2 separate regions of the Homo sapiens genome follow, and region 1 is linked to region 2. The links are contacts of gene promoters, found by promoter capture Hi-C in blood cells and fetal thymus (Javierre and others, 2016). All regions are on one chromosome and are shown on one strand. The core of a region is centred on a gene start or on the middle of the fragment in contact, and the rest is flanking DNA. Distances in the headings are between cores, read along the strand shown. Region 1 holds the start of MED12L (mediator complex subunit 12L). Region 2 holds the start of RNF13 (ring finger protein 13).

Region 1 (5,412 bases), core at 1,748-4,247, 1.3 Mb before region 2:
AATTACTCTTTCCAGAATCAGAGGCCCCAGTCGTGAAATGAGCATTGGCCTGAAGAACAAATGCTAAATAAGCCCACACAGCACCCCAAGCCATCATGCCATCAATTATGCTGCCCTCTGGAAAGACAGAGTAAGACATTAATTACAAGATGATAAAGTTCAACCAACAAAATATCCCTGTCCCTATCAAAACTTTAAGAATTTCCTCCCAATAATTTTTAAGCTATTAACTGTACACTTGATCCTCAGCTTCTCTATTATTTCCAGTCCTTAACCATTAACTTCATTCTAAGTTGGGGTAGCAGGGTGGGGTAACGGGTAGGAAAAAAAATCTGGGAAATCTTCTCAAACCTCTACCATCCTGTAAAGCTGGTGCTGGAAACCACCTGTAAAACCTTCCCAGCTTTCATCTGCGTGACTCCACTGATGCTAGAGCATATTTAGTGTGCTAAACCTCTAAAAGGAGTTGCTGTTCCTTACTTCTCAGACACTTTATAAGCAAGACAGTTTAGCCAGAACAAGCACTTACTCTCCTAATGAAAGATACACTTATCAAAAGGAAAGTCTTAAGGACCCCTCCTTGCCTGGTTTACAAGGCCCTTTCTGTGCTATCAGTGGGCCCACAAACTTTTAATGGAGGGTTTTTAGATTCTCAGAAAGGTAAGTTTTGAAATATGGTCAGTTCGTGTTTAGCTGAACAGAAGATGGGTGGACTGCAGCTGGCAAACTCAGAAAGCACTGCTGGGTAGCAGGTGATCAAAAAAAAAACAAAAAAAAGGCAAGTCCCTGGGCAAATGGTGTAGCCAAAGGTGATCATTATAACTAGAGACTTGTTACATAATTACTTGTTAACTCCTGACAAACAGATACACAGCTACAAAATGCCATGGTTACCCTAGCCATTGAAGCTAATGTAGCTGGTGCAAGAGTCAAGGTGTCTCCAATTAATCTCATTCAAAGAAATAAGCAATCCTGGGAACTATTCCCTCCCAAGGTAACTCGCCTGCTTTTACGTATACAAAACAGCCTCTAGCAATTAAGCCCATTGCCTCTAGAGACGAAAATCAGTGTTTCTCCTTAATTTTAATTTTTAAAGGGCAGAAGGGTTACAGAGGTATATTCAGAGAGCTAAATATTTATCACTTCGATAAAAACGACTTCCATTCCAAACTGGAAAATTTGAAAAGCTTCCCCCTCACCTTCGTCCCTGGCCAGCAAAAGCAAAACGCAAGACCTCAGTGTAGGATGCACTGCATTCCAACATTTTTCAAAAAGTTTACGACGATTTACCGAAGCGGCAAGAAGAAAAATAAAGCAGGCAGAAACGGGTGAGAGCGAGCAAGGTTTCGGCAGGGAAGAAGCCCGAGAAGCGCCCGGCGGCGCCGTGCAAGGCCCGGCAACGGGAAAGCGACCGGCACATGGAAAGCGAGCGCCCCAGTGGAGCGCGGGGACTGACAGCCGCTCGGTCTCCGCCGCCGGGGGGTCGCCCAGCACCCCCAGCCTGGCCCCCGCCTCTAATCCCCCTCCCCGACCTCTTCCACCGCAGCGCCGGCGATGCCCGCTGGGCCAACTTGGCCCCGGGTCAGTGCTGCAGAGCGCGGCCCCGGTTGCCGGGGAGGCCGCCGGCGCCCTTACCTCCTTCTGCTTGGGGTCCTGTGGGTAGACGTCGGGCGGCCCGAGCCGGGGGCGCTTCAGCGGTCTCTGCTCATAGCTGAGAAGCCCGAAGGCGGCCATGATCTCTCATGTTAACCGGCGAAATGAATGAGAGTTGGAGCTGGAGCAGCCGCCTCTGAGCACCAGGGAGCAGCACTTTGCAGACAGACTCCCTCTCTCCCCCTCCTCGCTCGCTCGCTCGCTGTGGCGCTGCAGGCAGGAGGAATAAAGCAGGTTGGATGCTGCCGCTGCCCGGCAGCAGACACGCACTGATGGGGACAGCCTTCGGCGGGTACTCGGCTGCGCTCGAGCCCCGGGACGCACCGCTCCGGTGGCGGCGGCGGAGGGACTAGAGGTCGGCCAGGGTCCTCCGCGGCGCCTGCCTCCTCTGCTCCCCCCTACCTTGTCTCCAGGGGGAGGAGCAGCTGATGGGAACGTGTGACTTTTTTCACCAATGGACCCAAACCCACCCCAGCTGGGCGCAGGATGGGGGTGGGGGTGGGGCACTGGAAAAAAAAAAAAAAAAACTTTTCTTGGCGCCTAGGCTGGTGGCTGAAGTGCTCGCCCAAGGCGAGGGTGGCCCTCCCCTCCCGGGAAGAAGCTGTGGAGCGGACCGCCCCCGCCTCTCTTCCCCGGCAGGGACCCTTCCCCCGCCGCCACGCGCCCCGCAGACCCCGCCACCTGGACACGGACCGGGCCAGTGCAGGCAGAGGCAGGTCTGGAGGGGGCGCGAGACGCAGGGATGCGGCCGGTGGGAAGCGGCCGGTGCCTCCTAGACGCCCGCCAGGTTCCAGTGGCGCATCCGCAGCTACGGTCCCCTCGGCGGCTCCGGGCAGGCGCCGAGGCGCGCTGCTGGCGGTCGCGGCGGCTGGAGGGGGCCGTGCTCACGGTGGCGTGGGGCCGACTTAACCCTTTACAGTCCCTCCAGGGGCTGGGGAAGGGGGTGAGGAGCGATGGCTGTGAGCGCCGACGGGGGCAGCCAGCCCGCAGGCGTCTCGGGCTCCTCCAGCCCGCCGCCTCCCCACGGCCCCAGCTCCTCTTCCCTTCCGCCCCCAACCCCCAACACTTTACCTGTTGGTCCGCGGCTAGCGGGCTGGGGCTGGCGGCGGCGGGGTCACTCCGGCCGCCGCAGCCTCCATCATTCGGGTTGGGATGGGGGACTTGGATTTGATTTTATTTGTGCGGTATCTGCCTCGCCCGGACGAGCTCCGGGAACGCCGCGAAGTTTGCCACTGTCTGGGGGCGGCGAGCGACGCCGGCTCGCCGCCGGCGTTCTCGCCCCCACGGCCCGGGAGCGCGAGCTTCCGAGTTGGCGGACGGCGGCGCGGCGTCCGCACTGAGCATGCCCAGCTCGGCGGCCGGACCGCGGAGGAGTTGGCTGAGAGCGCGGTGAGCGCGCTCCAATCCGCCTCTCCGGGTTTTCGCAGCCGCAGAGCGCGCAGCCCGCGGGCCCCGGCGCCGAGGCTGGCCCTGGGGTGAACCTGGGCGAGGGAGGGAGCGCCCTCTGGAGCCCTGCTCCAAGCCCCCCGCTGCACCCTCCGCCTCGACCTCCCCAGAGGTCGCGGTCCCCGTGGCCTGGGCCGAAAACCTCACCTGCGCCGGGAGCGTGGAAGGGGCGGGGGGGGTGATCCTCCAGGGCAGACCTTGGTCATCCAACCCGCCCTCGCTCCTCGCTTCGGGGCGCGGGCACCAAGATGCTGGGCCACCTGGCGCGAGCTCTGCGAGACCGGAGCCGCGGAGGCGGGCTCGGCCTGTCCTGAGGGACCCCGCGGGAGGCGTGCCCGGGAGAATGCGCCCGCACTTGGCCAAGAATGATGGCTGCCATTTATGGAGCCTTCGCTACGTGCCAGGATCTTGATAGTCAGAATCTCTGGTCCTTACAACCTTCCACGGTCTTACTGTACCCTTTTTATGGATGGAGAAATTGAGCCAGCTCAGAGAGGACCACTCACTTGCCGAAAGCCACGAAACGAGTCGGAATTTGAACCCACGACTGATTCTAAGTTTCTGACCTGTTTTCCCTGACTTGGACTTGGAGGGACTGGGTTCCTAACCTGTCCTTGCCTGATGGACTCACGTTCTCCACGGCTTGAGGCATTCTCGGCCTTCCCTCTCTGTAAGGTGGTAAAGGCAGATTCTAACCGGAAGCCTTTGATACATAGTAGGTGCTCTGGAAATGCTGGTTGAATCTGAACATCAACTTTGATGTTCGTTGACATTTAAGCAAAGGGGGAAGAAGGAGATAAATAAAGTGAAGGTAATGTGGTAGAGGCTAGTTCCTCACTCCTGATCCTGACCTGTGAGCACCTCCAAACCCAGTTTGAGGCTGAGTCAGGTGTTTAGCTTTTGGCTTCCTTAATCTGAACAATTACTTCTAGAGAGCATTTACCTAACTTCACTGGAGGGCATTTCCTGACCACCTTCCCCATCTTGCCCCAGGGTCTTCTCTTCCACTAATATCCTGGGATTAATTTCATGGCTGGACTTGCCCTTGTGATACAGGCATCTATCAAATGTAGCTCCCTTGTTTGAAAGAAAGGACAGTTTTTTGTTGTTGTTGTTTTCTTTGTTTGGTTGGTTGGTTGTTTTTTGAGACAGAGCCTCGCTCTGTCGCCCAGGCTGGAGTGCAGTGGCGAGATCTCGGCTCACTGCAAGCTCCGCCTCCTGGGTTCACGCCATTCTCCTGCCTCAGCCTCCCGCGTAGCTGGGGCTACAGGCGCCCGCCACCACGCCCGGCTAATTTTTTTTGTATTTCTTTTTTTTAGTAGAGACGGGGTTTCACAGTGTTAGCTAGGATGGTCTCGATCTCCTGACCTCGCAATCCGCCCACCTCGGCCTCCCAAAGTGCTGGGATTACAGGCGTGAGCCACCGCGCCCGGCCGAAAGGGTTTTTTTTATTATCTAACTTTATTAGGGAAATTATTAAACATACAAAAAGCTGAAGAAATCATATAAGGAGCCCTCAAATATTCATCTCTCAGCTATAAAAATTAAAGTTACTATTTTTGTTTCATCTTTCTCCCCCATTCCCAACTCACTGACATACACTAGTAAGGACAGTTTTACTCATTGTTGCAACTCAGAAACACTGTATGGGACCTGACACATGGTGAGCATTCAAAAATGTTGGCTTATGGAATGGATGATAGGTAGGCGATGTGTGGATGGACTGATGATTGCATCATTAGTGGTACTTTGGGAATAACAGCCTGCGCTGCTACTGAATCAAACACCCCTAGTTTGGGGGAGAAATGTAATCTCAGTTCTTCCCTTGGGATGCCTAAGCAAGCGCCTCCAACTGAAACACTTTGAAGCACTTAAAATCTTATCTGCCCATAAGAATTTTATCTTAAAATCAAAATGTGTCAGTAGTGTGCCCCTGGTGTTTGGGAAGAAGGGAAAATAATAGCCCTCTCCCTGTTGTTGTCCCTTCTTAACTCCCTCTCCTGAAACAGTCTGGCATGAATTCCTTGACCCTCTCAACACAAAATAAATAAATATTGAAAACTTTAATATGCTTAGAAGCTTCCCCTAGGAATCATTATTTTACTGCATGGATTTCCCATGGGCATTTGGCTCCTTACCCTGGGAAATCTTTGTAATCTACCCCCTACCTAGCAATTCAGCTTTTTCTCCTTAACCTCTTGCCCTAGTTAGCTTCCTTTCCTAATATGGAATTCCCAGGCTCTTCATCTTCAAATACTCACCTCTACAGTCCTCAGAGTACGGATTCCTGTACAAAGCCCCTTCAAATTCCCC
Region 2 (5,264 bases), core at 771-3,270:
CATACCCTCAGGCCTACCCTCACTTAGCTAAAGTTAGTGCCTGTAAAAGTTCTGATAAATCTACGTTATTCTGGAATGCAGAAAAATATCAAGGGAAGAAAGCTGAATGCTAGCAACAATTTATGCCCCTCCAAAATTATTGAGAAAATTAGCTTTATACAAGCATAGATGAGAACTTATCCCAAACCCTTCAGTATTATACCTCTCAAACCAAGATTCTGTCTATGATTTGCATTACACATAGAGACAAGATGTCAAGCTGCCTAGCTTCAAACAAAGGCAGAGGTTAAAAAAAAAAAAACTAATAAAACAGTTCTCATTCCCTACATAGAGAAAAATAACTGTGCCTCTCTCCAACAGTTTCCAACAAAACAAAAAAAAATTATGTAATAGACAAATTTTGTTTCATTTAATCCTCATAACAACTCATTTCTTATTTACGGAAAATGTCACAGAATTAGTAAATGGCAGAGCTGAACCCAGCTTGACTCCCAAATTTGGAATTTAGTATTTTGAAACATTTGTTTTTGCCATAATCCATAATACACTTTACATTTCCATCTTCCTCTTGACACACACATACTGTTAAAAACTGAAACAAAAGCTTCTTGCCATAATATTTACTTTTATTCCATACAATGTCCTCTGGTATTTTTTCTTTCTTTATAAAGCTTATGTCAATGTACTAAATTGATTCTAAAATCTATTAATGAATCCTTATGGGCCCTGCACTACAGCACTGCACTACACTTCCTGCACTACAGCACTGCACTACACTTCTTACCTCCTGTTTAAAGTTCTTTTTAATTGCTATCACTGTCCAGTTTTGTTACTTCGAGATGGAGCTAATGTCCACCCATTAAAAAACTGTGCTTAAATAGCATAAACTCTTGAAAGCCCTACCTTAAATCTTGAATTGATCTGTTTCTCCAGAAGAACTCTTTGGAGGCACAGCCACCTTACTTATTTATATTGTATCAAAAACTGCAGATGTTCTCCTTGGAGAACAAACACATCATTGTTGAAAGGAATGCATCAGTTTTCACTGTTTCTGCTGCATCACTGACGAACAGTAATAGCCGGGCAGGTTTGGGGCAACAAGAGAGGACCCGAGCAGCTGCCCACGGTGCTGAAACTGATGATGAAACGACAGTTTTGGAAATTTACTATTTACTATTGTCAGATTAGGACAAAATAGAGGAATTTACCAGACACTGGCAGAGAAAACTGAGTGGCCGCCACCAAAGTTGCATGAGTGCTTCCGGGATACTGCTGTTTGGCTTCGATGTCTGCCCACTCTCTCTTTCTCTCTGGGACAAAGTTATTTAATAAGTGCAAGTCAAGTCAAGTCAAGCATACAGGCAGAGCTGCTGACTGACCGTAGTATCTGGCCCTAGCAGGGGTTAAGTCCCAAACCTGCAATCTGAGCTTCCAGGGAAAGAAAAAGGGGGTGGGGGTAAAAGAGAGGAAGTGACTGCCCTCCTTCTATTCAGAGACAAAACAGCCCCCTCAACTAAAGTCAAGCGATGTGCCCGAGGACGTTGCGGCAGGTACTTGACCAAGAAAAGCCTTCCAAACATGTTTTCCAGGCAGGCTCTTGCAGCCTCAAGAAGGGAATGAGAGAAGCAAAACCGGTAACTCAACTTTGGACACACACAAACTCGCGGAATGAGAGTGCAGGGGAGACTCGGTCCCCCGAGGGCAAGGCTATTTTATTCCTTTTGCAAAAAGCCTAATTGACTTCTCACCCAGCTCTAGAGGAGCAGCAAAGACCTCAGCAGCAGGGCCGACTCCGAGCTCGAGGGCCAACAAGCGGGGTATGTTCTCTGGGCCGCTCGATAACGAGCTGCCCGGCTGCCGCGAAGCCGGACAGGGTCTTACCTTGAAGTCCGGCCCCCGCAACACAAACAGTCTTGCCAGCCGCGTCGCTGCGGGAGAAGTCCCTACCCTGATTTCATGACTGAATATCCGCACCGACCCCCACAGCCCGGAGTACTAGCAGGGACGACAACACCTAGGCGAAGCGGAAGTCCCGCCCCACGCGCCTCATTGGTCCGCACCCAAAGGCACAGAAAACCCACTGGGCAACATGGTTGCCTGTTAAGGCTCTTTCCCACTCTCACGCGGAGTCTCGCTACTTGCTCTAGCCCGGCTCGGAGAAATGCCCAGTTTGCGAGTCTCGTTCTTGGCCGCGTGATCCGTCTTCCCTGGAAGGGAAGAGCAGGGTGGGGCAGGCGTCTGCGGAACTGGAGCGCGGCTGAAGAAGCTGCTCTTGGCAGAGGAAGGGGCAGGCTGGCAAAGTGGATTGGCTGTGGGCGCCTGCCGCTAACCATGTGCCCCTAGAAACGGAGACCGTAGGGTCTGGAGGGCGCGGGACCGAGCGGGCAGGGCCGGTCGGTCTGATCTGCTCCGGCTGTTGGGACAGAGTAGCCCAAGATTCGGCTGCCGGGCTGCCCCCGGGCGGGCCTGGCCCTGGCGCTGACGCGTCTCTTCCCTGCACACTACACTCACCCGACCTACTAAAGAGGCGAGGGCGAGGCCTCATCCGCCCGCCTTCCGTACCGTGCCCAGTCTGAGATCAGAGTGGGTGGGGACCGTGGCCACACCTTAAAGTAGGGCTCAAATTGTTAGAGATGCGAGCGGCCCGAGGTCTGAACGCCAGTCCCCTGAGGCCTGGCTCGGATCCACGCTGGCATCAGCACTCTGGGCCTGACACGCGCCATCCCCGGGGCTTAGCAAAAGTCAAACCATGTGATTCAGGCCCTAGGTCAGCCTTTTAAAACCCTTGCCTCCTTTTGATGAACCAAAAATCTCCTCCCCTGCCGCCCTTCTGATAAGCCTTCCTTTCTGGTTGTCTCAATCTTAAACCAGTCGAAACTTAAATTACCGGATTGTACCATCCACATTGATTAATCATTGCCAACTCGCCACCTTACAAAAGCAGTGTGACTTAGGCAAATATTACAGAGTCCTGAAAGAAATGTCAGGAGACATAGAATCAGGCACTACTTCTGCTTCAAATAATAAGGCACCCTTAATAAGGCCTTTACAGGCTTCAACTCCTTCAACATCATCTTTTAAAAATGGTGGCGAGGAGGCTATCACACAGAGTATTAGTAGAATACCATTGGATGTAACTTGTCACTTTGATTGCTTGGAGAGCCCTGAGTAGGTGGGACACAGCAATGGGGAAAAGACTCTTTCCTTATTGTGTATCCTTTTGTGCCTTTTGAATTTTGAACCTTGCAAATATTACCTACTCAAATAAAATTCAAATACAAGAAATTTAAGATCAAATTTTAAAAAATTAAATAAAAGCTATCAAAGGTACTTTCCTCTTCTGTGTATCCTATGAGTATTCTATGTAGTCTTAACTTTTCATTGGTTGCAAAGACATTCAATACTTAAATCACAATTCTGCCTTTAAGAAAGTCATAAATAAAAGTCAGCATTGGGAATATTACTAAGAAGACTAATTAGTATAAACACATTTATAATATCTCTATAAGCATTTTTTTCATTAAATTATCCCAAATTGGTATATTAAATCAGATTTCTTGCATAACATCAAAATAAATTTTTTTAGGCCGGGTGCGGTGGCTCATGCCTGTAATCCCAGCACTTTGGGAGGCCAAGTCAGGCGGATCACTTGAGGTCAGGAGTTCAAGACCACACTGGCCAACATGGTGAAACCTCGTCTCTACTAAAAATACAAAATTAGCCGGGCATTGTGGTGCACACCTGTAATCCCAGCTACTTGGGAAGCTGAGGCAGGAGAATCGCTTGAACATGGGAGGCAGAGGTTACAGTGAGCTGAGATCCCACCACTGCACTCGGGCATAGGCAACAGAGCAAGATTCCATCTCCAAAAAAAAAAAAAAAAATTAAGTCCACAGAGAGGAGCTTTGGGTTTTGTTGTTTTATTTTTATTTATTTTAGAGACAAGGTCTCACTCTGTTGCCCAGGCTGGAGTGCAGTGGTGAGATCATGTCTCACTGCAGTCCAGAACTCCTGGGCTCAAGTAATCCTCCCACCTCAACCTCTGGAGTAGCTAGGATTACAGGCATGTGCCACCAGGCCTGGCTAATTTTTTTATTTTTTTTAGCCTTACAGTCTGGCTATGTTGCCCAGGCAGGTCTCAAACTCCTGGCCTCAAAGGATCTTCTTGCCTCGGTCTCCCAAAGTGCTAGGATTACAGGCATGAGTCACCACGCTCAGACAAAGAGCTTTGCTTATTCCTTAAAGGCACCTTGAGTACAGAATATTTTACTTCTGGTTTCAACCTGCTCTTCAGATAACAATAGGTATAGTTCTCTCAACTATGAACAAGGTAATGTGTCATTTGTACTGCATTTAGGCTACACTCTGCAAAAACATTTACTCTCCCAACCTGTGCTGAAAAAGGTAAATTGGAAAAAAATATATTGGAAAAATGTATTAATCTTTCTAAAGCAGATTAGACAGTAAGATTGACAGATATCATAATTACAATTTTCAAGAACATGAAGGGTTAATAAGGCACGTGATACTAATATACCACTAATTATCTTTTTAAAAATCAAAATGTGCTTTTAGGGTGTTGTATCTAACAGGTTTTTTTTTTAAACCTTCCTAAAAAGTACAAACAGATAGCACGTAAAAGTAATTGTAGAATCTCCTGCTTCCAAAATATTGTAAGGCAACAACAACAAAAAAAGACAGATACCCAATTATGTAATTGTCTGAAATGGCTTAGAAATAGTTCTCCCTAAATACCAGAAAGAATGCAGGCTGTCTCCTTAAGCACAGAGATTAATCAGAAACCTTAAACAATTCTATATATTATCATATTTAGAAACAGAAAAAAAGTAATTTTAGAATCAGAAAAAAGGTATTTTCATTTTGAAAACAAAATAAAATTATTACTATTAAAAGAAAGAATAAGATCCATAAAGAATTTATATGTGTATGAAATAAGCAATTTTGAAAAGTACCAAACAGAATTTCTACAAATAGCATCAGGGAACTTTTAGCCAAAGATTCTAAAAGATTCTAATTTCTTTGCCAAGTTCCAAATTAATGAATGGGTTCATTAAGTAAGATAAAAAGTGAAAAGTTCAGAACCTAAGGCGATACATATCAGTCAGAGGGTTTTTCAACAAAGTTTATCCAATTTATTTTCAAGGAGTTGAGAAAGATCAGGCAAAAAGAGGTGTGCTTAATGTTCAATGCCTTAAAAATGATCTAGTCATTGTTTTATGTGGGATGAGTTACTTCTCTGTATA

The links. The method cuts DNA at HindIII sites, captures the fragments that hold promoters and counts their contacts. A CHiCAGO score of 5 or more calls a contact.
Region 1: the fragment with the promoter of MED12L here is called in contact with the fragment with the promoter of RNF13 in region 2 in 1 of 17 cell types (fetal thymus); the score reaches 5.6 in fetal thymus.

What each region holds. Positions count from the first base shown.
Region 1 is chr3:151,083,249-151,088,660 of GRCh38, reverse strand. MED12L (mediator complex subunit 12L) reads right to left here and starts at 2,997. Exons shown (of 45, transcript NM_001393769.1): 1 at 2,725-2,997; 2 at 1,636-1,863. The coding sequence starts at 1,734. RefSeq lists silencers at 2,245-2,539, 2,976-3,345. The HindIII fragment of the contact is 3,991 bases long and covers 1,190-5,180 here.
Region 2 is chr3:149,809,971-149,815,234 of GRCh38, reverse strand. RNF13 (ring finger protein 13) reads right to left here and starts at 2,020. Exons shown (of 10, transcript NM_183381.3): 1 at 1,882-2,020. RefSeq lists enhancers at 2,177-2,286, 2,152-2,663 and a silencer at 2,497-2,646. The HindIII fragment of the contact is 6,716 bases long and covers 674-5,264 here.